4 separate regions of the Homo sapiens genome follow, and regions 2, 3 and 4 are each linked to region 1. The links are contacts of gene promoters, found by promoter capture Hi-C in blood cells and fetal thymus (Javierre and others, 2016). All regions are on one chromosome and are shown on one strand. The core of a region is centred on a gene start or on the middle of the fragment in contact, and the rest is flanking DNA. Distances in the headings are between cores, read along the strand shown.

Region 1 (2,700 bases), core at 150-2,649:
GGCTGAGCCAGAGCGGGCGCCTCAGGGATTGGGGTTGGGGTGGGGGTTGCCGATGGCCACTCCTTCCCCTGGCTGGGCCGGCCACTAAGGTCAGCAACTCCACCCTGACTGAACGGGGGAGGCCAGGATCTCCAGAGAAGGGCCCATGTTCCACCCAAGTCTTCAGGCTCTGCCTGACTCTTGTTACTCCAGCTGAGGGAAGAAGAAATGGGGTGATAGTCACTGCCTGCCCCTTCTCTGATGCCGACCCCTCTTCATGCCCTCTCTGCCTCTGCTTCTCTCTGCCACCGAGATCTCTTCTCGCAGCCCCTCTCCACGGGTCTACCCAGTACACATAATCCCATCCCGAGCTGGGTTTGGCTTTGGCAGTTCCCTGGAGAAGTGAGGGGTGGGGGTGACGTGAGCTCCCGGGGCCCGGGCCAGGCCTGGCTCCCTCTCTGGAAAAGTCCCACCCCACCCTCCCCTGCGCAGCCCGGCAGGGGCCCATGCCCCCTCCTCTGCAGAAACACACGCACATTTATGCTTCTCACCCCTTTCCATGTCCCTCATTTGGTGTCGTTCCCGGCCCAGGACGAGGAAAGGAGAGGTCAGAGGTGGTCACTCTGGTGCCAGAGTAGACCCTGGTCTGGACAAACGCGGGCTCCTCCTGGCCACACCTCTCCACACTGCCCAGTGAAGACCAAGGAACAGAGACCTGCGCAGGGCTCACCCCTTCACCCCCAGGTCTCCCTGCTGGAGAGTGGTTGGACCCTGTGTTTCTGGGCCTAGCCATGGAGAATCCCTGTCCTGAGTCCGAATTCCCGGGCCCTCAGAGCCCTCCACTCCTGGGTCTGGCAGGCCACCCCAACAGGTGTCTTTCTTTTTTGTCAACCTCTTCTGCCATCGGGCTGAGCTGGATCAAGGGCACCCACCTGCGTCCCTCGCGGCGACCCTGTCCTCCAAGTTCAGGAGTGCAGTGGGGGACACACCGTCCGAGAGCACCCTCCTAGAGAGAGGGCAGGAGGCACCGGCCGCGCGGGGAGGTCATGGGTCTGTTTTCCAACTTTACTATGTGACTTAGGAGGAATTTTGGTTCACTCCCCGCCCGGGTGATGGGGCCAGAGTTCCACGGGATCAGACTCCCTCCCCAGGAATTCGACCCCAGGGGCTGGAAGATTGTCCGAGGCCACCGGAGCTGGGTCCGGGGTCGTGGCGGGGTCGCGACCGCACAGCGCAGGGAGAGGGGACGACGCGGGCGCGCGGGGCGGGCGGTCTAACGGGACCCGGGAGAGGGGCGGCCGGGGCCGGGGTCCCGGGGAGGTCTCTACCTGCTCTGCGAGCCCCCGGTGGCCCGTTAACCCTTCTGCGCCCAGGCGCTCTCTCCAGGCAACCTCGCTCCGCGGCGGCCACTGGGGCCCCTGAGCCGCGCTCCGGTCACGGCCGCCTCGGCCGCAACTCCGCCCTCGCGCCCGCCCCCGCCCAGCCCCGCCCGCCACGCGCCCCAGCCCGCGCCCCTCGGCGGCCCCGGGGTGGGGCCGGTCTGCCTCGCAGCCCCACTCGCCAGGACCACCCACCCCGGGCTGCGCGCCGGGCGCCCCCCGACGGCTGCGTGAGCTGAAGCCCGGGCTGGCCCAGCCGGGGTCGGAGGCTGCAGTCGCTCCCGGGCGCTGTCCTCGTGCCCGGCCGAGACTAGGGACTTAAGCAGCCCGGGCTGGCCCAGCCGGGGTCAGAGGCTGCAGTCGCTCCCGGGCGCTGTCCTCGTGCCCGGCTGAGACTAGGGACTTAAGCAACCCGGGCCTCCGAGCCGCTCGGGTGAGCGGTGCGAACACGGCGCGGCGCGGCGCGGCACAGGCGGGGCAGCCTCCAGGGGCGCCTGGAGCGAGGCGGCCTGGGAGAGCCGCTGGTCCGGGAGGGAAGCGCCCTGGACGGAGGTACCCGCGGCCCCCGATCCGCGTGGGTCCAGGCTCTCCCCTCCACGCAGCCTCCCCTGCAAACTCAGTCACTCCTGCCTCTCCCGTGTTGGGCAGTGGTGGTTCAGATTGCTGGGACTTCTATGAGCTTCGGTTTTTTTCCTCAGTAAGGTTTTACACTCGGGACTCAGCGAAAGGACAGCGTGCTGACTTCTGAGTCAGACTGATCTGGATTTGAACCTCAGCTCCAGCTCTTGCCAGCTATGTGGTCTTCGACGAATACTTCCACCCCTGTGTGGTGCAGTTTGCTCATCTGCAAAATGGGACTAATCTAATATATATGATGGGCTTGGATATGTCTCTTTATGCATTTATACATGGAAGAATGCACCCCAAACTCAGTAGTATTGGTGACATCTGGGGAGGGATGCAGGGTTGGGGGAGGACTGAAAAAGGCTTTTGCTTTTTACTCTGCGTTATGTTTATTATTATTATATTATTATTTATTTATTTTTTTTGAGACGGAGTCTCACTCTGTCGTCCAGGCTGGAGTGCAGTGGTGCTATCTTGGCTCACTGCAAGCTCCGCCTCCCAGGTTCACGCCATTCTCCTGCCCTAGCCTCCTGAGTAGCTGGGACTACAGGCGTCTGCCACCACGCCCGGCTAATTTTTTGTATTTTTAGTAGAGACGGGGTTTCATCGTGTTAGCCAGAATGGTCTCGATCTCCTGACCTCGTGATCCGTCCGCCTCGGCCTCCCAAAGTGCTGGGATTACAGGCGTGAGCCACCGCACCCAGCTATGTAATGTTAT
Region 2 (2,700 bases), core at 44-2,543, 290 kb before region 1:
TGAAGACTCACAGCCTAGATTATTCTCACAACAGAACTAGTGTTGCTTTGGTGACCGAATCCTTTCTTGCGGTAGTTTTCTAGAAAAGTTTTAGTTTCCTTGATGTGGCTATTTAAAAGACCAGGTTTCTGTACTTACGTGTCAGAAATCTGTCAGATACTAGGAAGATGAGTGCTTTATGTTTGAGAATAGAATTTTATGTCTTAGGCAAAGTGTAACTAAATATGGGCCTATGTGGTGAGACCCTTTTTGCCATTTAGAAAGGAGACTCTAGAATTCTCTTGGGAGACTGTTGTTTGTAATGTAGAAATGCTGCAGAAGAAATATGCATAGACTTTTCTGTTTTCTAGTATCTGTGATTTGGGGGTGACTTAGGAAATAGATCATTGATGCCAATACCCATTTTTACTATATTCCCCCTTTTTTCTACTATTTCCTCTTTAATCTGGGTCACAAACTCATTTTGCTGCCAGTTTAACTCGAGCTTCTTACTAACCCTTTCACTGTTCAGAAAATGGATTTGGCATGATGTGGTGGAGAAAACATTGTATTGGGAAGAGAGCAGCCTGGGGAAAGTCACTTACCTACTTGACCTCCCTTTGCTCTTCTCAGAAAAAAGAGATTTATGTTAGATTTTTAATTTTCTTACTTTCTTTTTTTTTTGGACAAAGAACTTTTGTTCAAGTAGAATTCTTAAGTGGTAACAGAAATAAATAAAAGAGATAAAGCAGGCCGGGCGCAGTGGCTCATGCTTGTAACCCTAGCACTTTGGGAGGCCGAGGCAGGCAGATCACGAGGTCAAGAGATGGAGAATATCCTGGCCAACTTGGTGAAACCGCGTCTCTACTAAAAATAAAAAAAAAAAAAACTGGGCGTGGTGGTGTGCGCCTGTAGTCCCAGCTACCTGGGAGGCTGAGATAGCAGAATTGCTTGAACCCAGAAGGCGGAGGTTGCAGTGAGCCGAGATCCCGCCACTGTACTCCAGCCTGGGTGACAGAGCAAGACTCCATCTCAAAAAAAAAAAAAAAAAAAAAGAAGAAGAGAGATAAGGCAAATATTTGAGTAGAAGCAGAAATGCAGCATGTTGCATGATTATCTCCTTGAGGCATCCCCATGGAGGACACTGAGAAACTTAATGGGCTTTTAAAAATTCCTGTTGGAAAACTGCTGGATTATTCCTGTTAACAGTGATATCTTTCTGTCTTAATTTTGAGGAAGTCAGTGTTGGAGCTGTGGTCTATTTACCTGGGTGAGATTCAAATTGTCTTGTCAGACCTTTAATCATCCTCCTCTCCATTCCACTCCTCCAGTTAACTTCGTCCCAGACTGGGGACCCATATGGGACTTTTAGTAGATGGTGTATCTTAAGTCTTGTAAGAAGTTTAGTGCACTGGCAGCACACCCAGATAAAGAAGGTAGGACTTTGTGCATTAATGGGCCAAATAAAACTTCAAAATCTTCAAATTCTGCCTTTTAATGTTGCAAATAAGAGAGAGGCTTACCATATTTTATAGACCAAGGAAATCTGTACTATCAATTCTTGTATCAGCTATGGAGCCACATACTTGAGTTGGCAAAAATTGGTCCTTTTATTTTCTGGCCTTTAAATAGTTGAATTAGTAAGCATGGGAGTTAACCAAGCTGAGGTTATATGTTCCATAGGAACTTAAGTGAGTAAAATCAGCATTTAAAAATACTATCTTTTTTTTTCTCTTGTTTTTTGTTTTTTGTTTTTTTTTGAAATGGAGTCTTGCTCTGCCACCCAGGCTGAAGTGCAGTGGTGTGATCTCAGCTCACTGCAACCTCCACCTCCCAGATTCAAGTGATTCTCCTGTCTCAGCCTCCCAAGTAGCTGGGATTACAGATGCATGCCACTGTGCCCTGCTAATTTTTGTATTTTTAGTAGAGACAGGATTTCACCATGTTGGCCAGGCCGGTCTCAAACTCCTGGCCTCAAGTAATCCACCTGCCTCCATCTCCCAAAGTGCTGGGATTACAGGCATGAGCCACCATGCCTGACCTGTCGTTTCTTAAAACAGCTTTTGTTCTGAGGGAGTGGTAATTTACAAAGGATGTGAAGTTTCCAGGAAATAGGGGGAAGGGAATTACATTATCTTCTTGTTCTCTGTCTGCCTTATTAGTTCTGTTTCATGCTTGCTTTGCATGAGAAGGTTGGCAAACCTTATTTTAACTGCTGAGACTTAAGCATCACTAAATCTGAATACCACATTCTTCAGCAGCACACTTGGTATCCATATCACTCTCCCTGCTACCAAATGACCAGATGTGACCACCTGGATGGGGCTTCTCTTTCTTTCCATGCAGGGAAAATCACAGTGAAATTGAACGGCGGCGACGGAACAAGATGACAGCCTACATCACAGAACTGTCAGATATGGTACCCACCTGTAGTGCCCTGGCTCGAAAACCAGACAAGCTAACCATCTTACGCATGGCAGTTTCTCACATGAAGTCCTTGCGGGGAACTGGCAACACATCCACTGATGGCTCCTATAAGCCGTCTTTCCTCACTGATCAGGTCTCTGGGACTTATAGTTCTGAGAGAGTCTGGAATCTGGGTGAATCTCTTGAAAGTTTTCGTTTTTTGGACAAGAATTCAGCTTTTCAGGAAGAAGTCAGACAATGGGAAAACGAATTTCAATCCTTGGCTATAACATTAATTAGCATTGGGACAATGAG
Region 3 (2,700 bases), core at 55-2,554, 310 kb before region 1:
CCTTTGCCTCCCAGGCGATTCTCATGCCTCAGTCTCCCAAGTAGCTGGGATTATAGACGTGTACCACCACACCTGACTAATTTTTGTATTTTTAGTAGAGACGGGATTTTGCCGTGTTGGTCAGGCTGGTCTCAAACTTGACCTTAAGTGATCTACCCACCTCAGCCTCCTAAAGTGCTGGGGTTACAGGCATCAGCCACCGTGCCTGGCCTCCATGGTAATCTTTTTTTTTTTTTTTTTTTGAGACGGAATCTTGCTCTGTCACCCAGGCTAGAGTGCAGTGGCACGATCTTGGCTCATTGCAACCTCCGCCTTTTGTGTTCAAGCGATTCTTCTGCCTCAGCCTCCCGAGTAGCTGGGACTACAGGTGTGCGCCACCATGCCTGGCTAATTTTTGTATTTTTAGTAGACACGGAGTTTCACCATATTGGCCAGGCTGGTCTCGAACTCCTGATGTCGTGATCTGCCTGCCTCGGCCTCTCAAAGTGCTAGGATTACAGGTTTGACTCCATGGTACTCTTATATCCTATATAAACGTATTACTAAAAGTATGAACTTTTTTTTTTTTTTTTTTTTTTTTACAGAGGCAGGATCTCACTATGTTGCTCAGGCTAGTTTTGAACTCCTGAGCTCAAGCAATCCTCATGCCTTGACCTCCCAAAGTGCTGGGATTATAGGCATGAGCCACTGCACTTGGCCCTGAACTTTTTTTTTTAATGGAAAAAGTGTTTTTTCTTAGGAAAGTAACATATGCTTACTATTTCAAATTTATAGGCTGAAATAGAAAAATTAGCAGTAACATAAAAATATACTCAGCCTTAATGTATGTTAAACTAACAGTGGTAATTGTTTTTTACCAAGAAAATGACCACAAATTTGAAGGATTCCCAAAACACAGTGCTGTTGGAGGTATGGCTAAATTGATGCAGTGGATGAGGCTTTAAATTGGTATAACCTCCTTGGCAGGTAATGGGCAATCAGAGTTTTAAATGTGTCTACCCTTAGGCCCAGGGAGTCATTTTCAGAAATAATATGGAAGTACTGGCACCTGTGCATGAAGATACACAATGATGTTCCTTGAAACATTATTTATAATAGTGAAGGTTTGAATGTCATAACTATACATTTATAGTACAGAGTACTATGTAACTGTTAAAAAGAATGATCTACGTGTGTATTTATTGCCATAGCAATATATTGTTACGTGGAAGGGAAAAAGTTCAGAATAAGTACATCTGTACTTATGGTGGGGTTATGGCTTGATAAACCCATTGTAAATTGAAAACATCCTAAGTCAAAAATACATTTAATACACTTAACCTATTCTTAGCCTAGACTACCTTAAATGTGTGTGGAATACTTACATTAGCCTGCAGTGGGCAAAATAATCTAACTTAAATTCTACTTTATAATAAAGTACTGGATATTATGTAATTTACAGAACACTGTACATTACACTGAAATTGTAATGGTTTCCCACTATCATAAAGGTGAAAAGCCCTACATGGAACCATTATAAGTCAGGACTGTTTGTATAGTATGACCCTTTTTTTTGGGTAAAAATTACCGAAACCCTGGCTGGGCGTGGTGACTCATGCCTGTAATCAGGCACATACCACATGTATGGCCAATTTTGTTCATTTTTTTTAGAGATAGGGTCTCACTGTGTTGCCCAGGGTGGTCTTGAACTTCTGGACTCAAATGATCCTCCTCCCTCGGCCTTTTAAAGTGCTAGCCTTACAGGTGTAAGCCACCATGTTCAGCCCCACAGTTTCTTTATCCGTTAACCTGTAGATAGACACTTGGGTTGCCCTCACCCTTGACTACTGTTGAATAGTACTTCTGTGAACGTGGGTATACAAATGTTTCTTTGAGACCCTGCTTTCAATTCTTTCAGGTATATACCCAGAGGTGGAATTGCTGGATCATGTGGTAATTCTATTTTTAATTTAATTTTTTTTTTGCGATGTTGTCTTGCTGTGTTTCCCAGCCTGATCTTGGACTCAAGATTCTCCTGCCTCAGACCCCGAGTAGCTGGGACTACAGGTGCGCACCACTGCACCCAGTTTTATTTTTAATTTTTGGAGGCATCTCCATACTGTTTTCTATTGCTGTTACGCCATTTTACATTTCCACTAGCAGTGCATAAGGGTTTTAATTTCTCCACATCCTTGCCAACCCTTTATTTATTTATATATTTTTGGATAATAGTCATCTTAATGAGTAGCAAATGCTTTCTCATTGTGGTTTTGATTTGCATTTCCCTAGCGATTGGTTATGTTGAGCACTTTACATGTATTTATTGGCCATTAGTATATCTTCTTTGTAGAAATGCTTGTTCAAGTTCTTTGCCCATTTTAAAATTGGGTTTGCTTTTTGTTGAGTTGTAGGAGCTCTTTATATATTTTGTTTTATTTTTTATTTGTTTATTTTTTTGAGGCAGAGTCTTTCTCTGTCGCTCAGGCTGGAGTGCAGTGGTGCGATCTTGGTTCACTGCAGTCTCCGCCTCCTGGGTTCAATTAATTCTCCCTGCCTCAGCTTCCCGAGTAGCTGGGATTACAGGTGCCCACCACCATTCCTGGCTAATTGTTGTATTTTTAGTAGAGATGGGATTTCACCATGTTGATCAGGCTGGTCTCGAACTGCTGACCTCAGGTGATATGCCCGCCTTGGCCTCCCAAAGTGCTGGGATTACAGGTG
Region 4 (2,700 bases), core at 104-2,603, 270 kb before region 1:
GCGCCTGTAGTCCCAGCCACTCGGGAGGCTGAGGCAAGAAAATCGCTTGAACCCGAGGGGTGGTGGTTGCAGTGAGCAGAGATCGTGCCACTGCACTCCAGCCTGGGCGACAGAGGGAGACTCCGTCTCAAAAAAAAAAAAAAAAGCTTAAGTCTCTGAAAGGAAGCATGAGAAATATGCTTCCATGTTTAATCACTTAGTTTTTACTCTCATTTTGTTTTAATATTGAAAAATATTGGTGCCTCAAGGACAATGACAAGAGTTTTAGGGTTATAGAAATTGGAAAATTTTTATTTATTTTTGTAATGAAAATTTTCTATGAGTTCCACTGATGGCATGAAAACTTTTTCAGGTAGTGAAATTAAAAGGCCAAGTGCTGTCTGTCATGTTCCGGTTCCGGTCTAAGAACCAAGAATGGCTCTGGATGAGAACCAGCTCCTTTACTTTCCAGAACCCTTACTCAGATGAAATTGAGTACATCATCTGTACCAACACCAATGTGAAGTATGTATTATACAGGAGTGTGAAAAAACTGTTTTTCCTCTGTTCTCACAACAGAAAACACTTCTGATGCCCTATGTGGGGGGTAAACAATCAAGCAACAACACAAAAATTTAGCCGGGCGTGGTGGCATGTGCCTGTAGTCCCAGCTACTCTGGAGGCTGAGACAGGAGAATCACTTGAACCTGAGAGGTGGAGGTTGCAGTGAGCTGGGATCATGCCACTGCACTCCAGCCTGGGCTACAGAGCGAGACTCCATTTCAAAAAAAGAAAAAGAAAAAAGAAATCAAGCAATCAGTAGTGGACACCAGCTGGGTGTCCTTCCATTCAATTCAGTTCACTATCTACTTGGAGATAGCATCAGATCCCCCAATTTGTGTATGCAGTACCACAAGACTGCTCCCACTTCTGATGCCAGTTGCAAGCCCCAGGTTGTTTTACCTGTGCATCTGACTGACCAGCTGTCTCCCATGACCCCCTACTTGGGTTCAGTCAATTTGCTTGAATGGCTCAGGGAACATTTACCTATGTTTACCAGTTTATTATAAAGGATATTACAAAGGATACTTTGTACATCAGATGAAGAGATAGATAGGGCAAGGTAAGGAGGAAGGAGTGCAGAGCTTTCAGACCCTTTCTGGGTGGGCTACCCTCCGGGGATCTCCATGTGTTTACCTATCAAGAAGCTCCTCAAACCCAGTCCTTTTGGGTTTTAATGGAAATTTCATTATGTAGCCATGAGTGATTAAATCATTGGCCATTGGTAATCAACTTAACCTTAGGTACCGGCTCCCCTCCATGAGGTTGAGGGTTAGGGCTAAAAGTCCCAGCCCTCTAATTTTACCTTGATCTTTCCAGAGATGAGCCCCCATCTTGAAGCTACCTAGGGGTTGCCAGCCCTCAGTCAACTCATTAGCAGACAAAAAGACACTTATCACACTGAAGATTCCAAAGATTTTAATTGGTAAAAATCCAGGTCCACTTATACATGGATTTTTTTCAGTAAATATATTAGAAAATTCTTTTGATATTTGTGACAATTTGAAAAACCCAAAAATAAGCTACATAGCCTGGATATATTGAAAAAATTAGAAAAAGTTAGCCATGTCATACATGAATGTATTAAATATATATAAATTCTAGTCTATTTTATCATTTACTACCATACAACATATACAAATCTATTATAAAAAGTAAAAATGCTGGACAGGTGCAGTGGCTCACACCTGTAATCCCATCACTTTATCACTTTGGGATACCAAGTTGGGATACCAAGTTGAGCAGATCACTTGAGGTCAGGAGTTCGAGACCAGCCTGGCCAACATGGTGAAACCCTGTCTCTACTGAAAAAAAAAAAAAAAAAAAAAAGAAAATACAAAAATTAGCTGGGCATGGTGGCACACGCCTATAGTCCCAGCTACTTGGGAGGTTAAGGTATGAGAATCACTTGAACCTGGGAGGTGGAGGTTGCAGTGAGCTGAGATCGCACCACTGCACTCCAGCCTGGGTGACAGAGGGAGACTCCATCTCAAAAAAAATAAAAATAAAAATGTATCACAACGTATACATACACACCGTTTGTACAATGGCACCATTTGTAGTTGAGAGAAATGTAAACAAATGTAAAGATGCAGTTTTAAATCATAACCGCGTAAAGTTAACTATAGTATATACTGTACTGTTGTAATAATTTGGTAGCCACCTATTGCTCAATTGTTGCCAGTTTGCTTAAAATGCTGTGTGATGCTAATCATCTCTTCATGAGCAATTCACTCCAGTAAATTGCATATTGCAGTAAACAGTGAAATCTCATGGTTCTTGCATATTTTTCATCGTGTTGAGTGCAATACTGAAACCTTGAATAACATTTGGGAACAGTATGAAGTGCCACTAGTGATGCTGGAAGTCTTCCCAAGAAGCAGGGAAAAGTCATGACATTATAAGAAAAAGGTGAATTGCTTGATATGTACTATAGAATGAAGTCTGCAGCTGTGGTTGCTTGCCACTTCATATAGATGACTCATCTTGTAAGTCATCTTGTAAGATGATATAAGCTTATGATAACGATAAATACAGTACAGTGCTGTAAATGCATTTTCTCTTCCTTATGATTTTCTTAATAACATTTTCTCTTTAGCTTTATTGTAAGAATACAGTACATAATACGTACAACATACAAAACGTGTTCAACTGCTTATG

What was found. Contacts are between HindIII fragments. The CHiCAGO score rates a contact against its expected background, and 5 or more counts as called.
Region 2: a contact is called between a fragment that was not itself captured here and the fragment with the promoter of ADAMTSL4 in region 1, in 2 of 17 cell types (neutrophils and erythroblasts). The highest score is 7.4, in neutrophils.
Region 3: a fragment that was not itself captured here is called in contact with the fragment with the promoter of ADAMTSL4 in region 1 in 1 of 17 cell types (neutrophils); the score reaches 5.0 in neutrophils.
Region 4: a contact is called between a fragment that was not itself captured here and the fragment with the promoter of ADAMTSL4 in region 1, in 4 of 17 cell types (erythroblasts, endothelial precursors, neutrophils and 1 more). The highest score is 9.4, in erythroblasts.

Annotation. Positions count from the first base shown.
Region 1 is chr1:150,548,107-150,550,806 of GRCh38, reverse strand. ADAMTSL4 (ADAMTS like 4) reads right to left here and starts at 1,399. Exons shown (of 19, transcript NM_019032.6): 1 at 1,308-1,399; 2 at 912-985. It overlaps LOC124904417, which reads right to left and starts at 517. Exons shown (of 1, transcript XM_047438226.1): 1 at 1-517. The coding sequence starts at 517. It overlaps ADAMTSL4-AS2 (ADAMTSL4 antisense RNA 2), which reads left to right. Exons shown (of 6, transcript NR_187269.1): 6 at 2,057-2,243. RefSeq lists an enhancer at 1-193 and silencers at 1,529-1,668, 1,839-1,988, 1,920-2,214. The HindIII fragment of the contact is 42,411 bases long and covers 1-2,700 here.
Region 2 is chr1:150,839,280-150,841,979 of GRCh38, reverse strand. It overlaps ARNT (aryl hydrocarbon receptor nuclear translocator), which reads left to right. Exons shown (of 22, transcript NM_001668.4): 6 at 2,326-2,539. Among named protein-coding and RNA genes, the nearest start is that of CTSK, 32 kb to the right of the region's middle. The HindIII fragment of the contact is 6,848 bases long and covers 1-2,700 here.
Region 3 is chr1:150,860,593-150,863,292 of GRCh38, reverse strand. All of the region lies in intron 1 of ARNT (aryl hydrocarbon receptor nuclear translocator), which reads left to right. Among named protein-coding and RNA genes, the nearest start is that of ARNT, 15 kb to the left of the region's middle. The HindIII fragment of the contact is 5,924 bases long and covers 1-2,700 here.
Region 4 is chr1:150,820,998-150,823,697 of GRCh38, reverse strand. ARNT (aryl hydrocarbon receptor nuclear translocator) reads left to right here. Exons shown (of 22, transcript NM_001668.4): 14 at 353-504. Among named protein-coding and RNA genes, the nearest start is that of CTSK, 14 kb to the right of the region's middle. The HindIII fragment of the contact is 2,409 bases long and covers 149-2,557 here.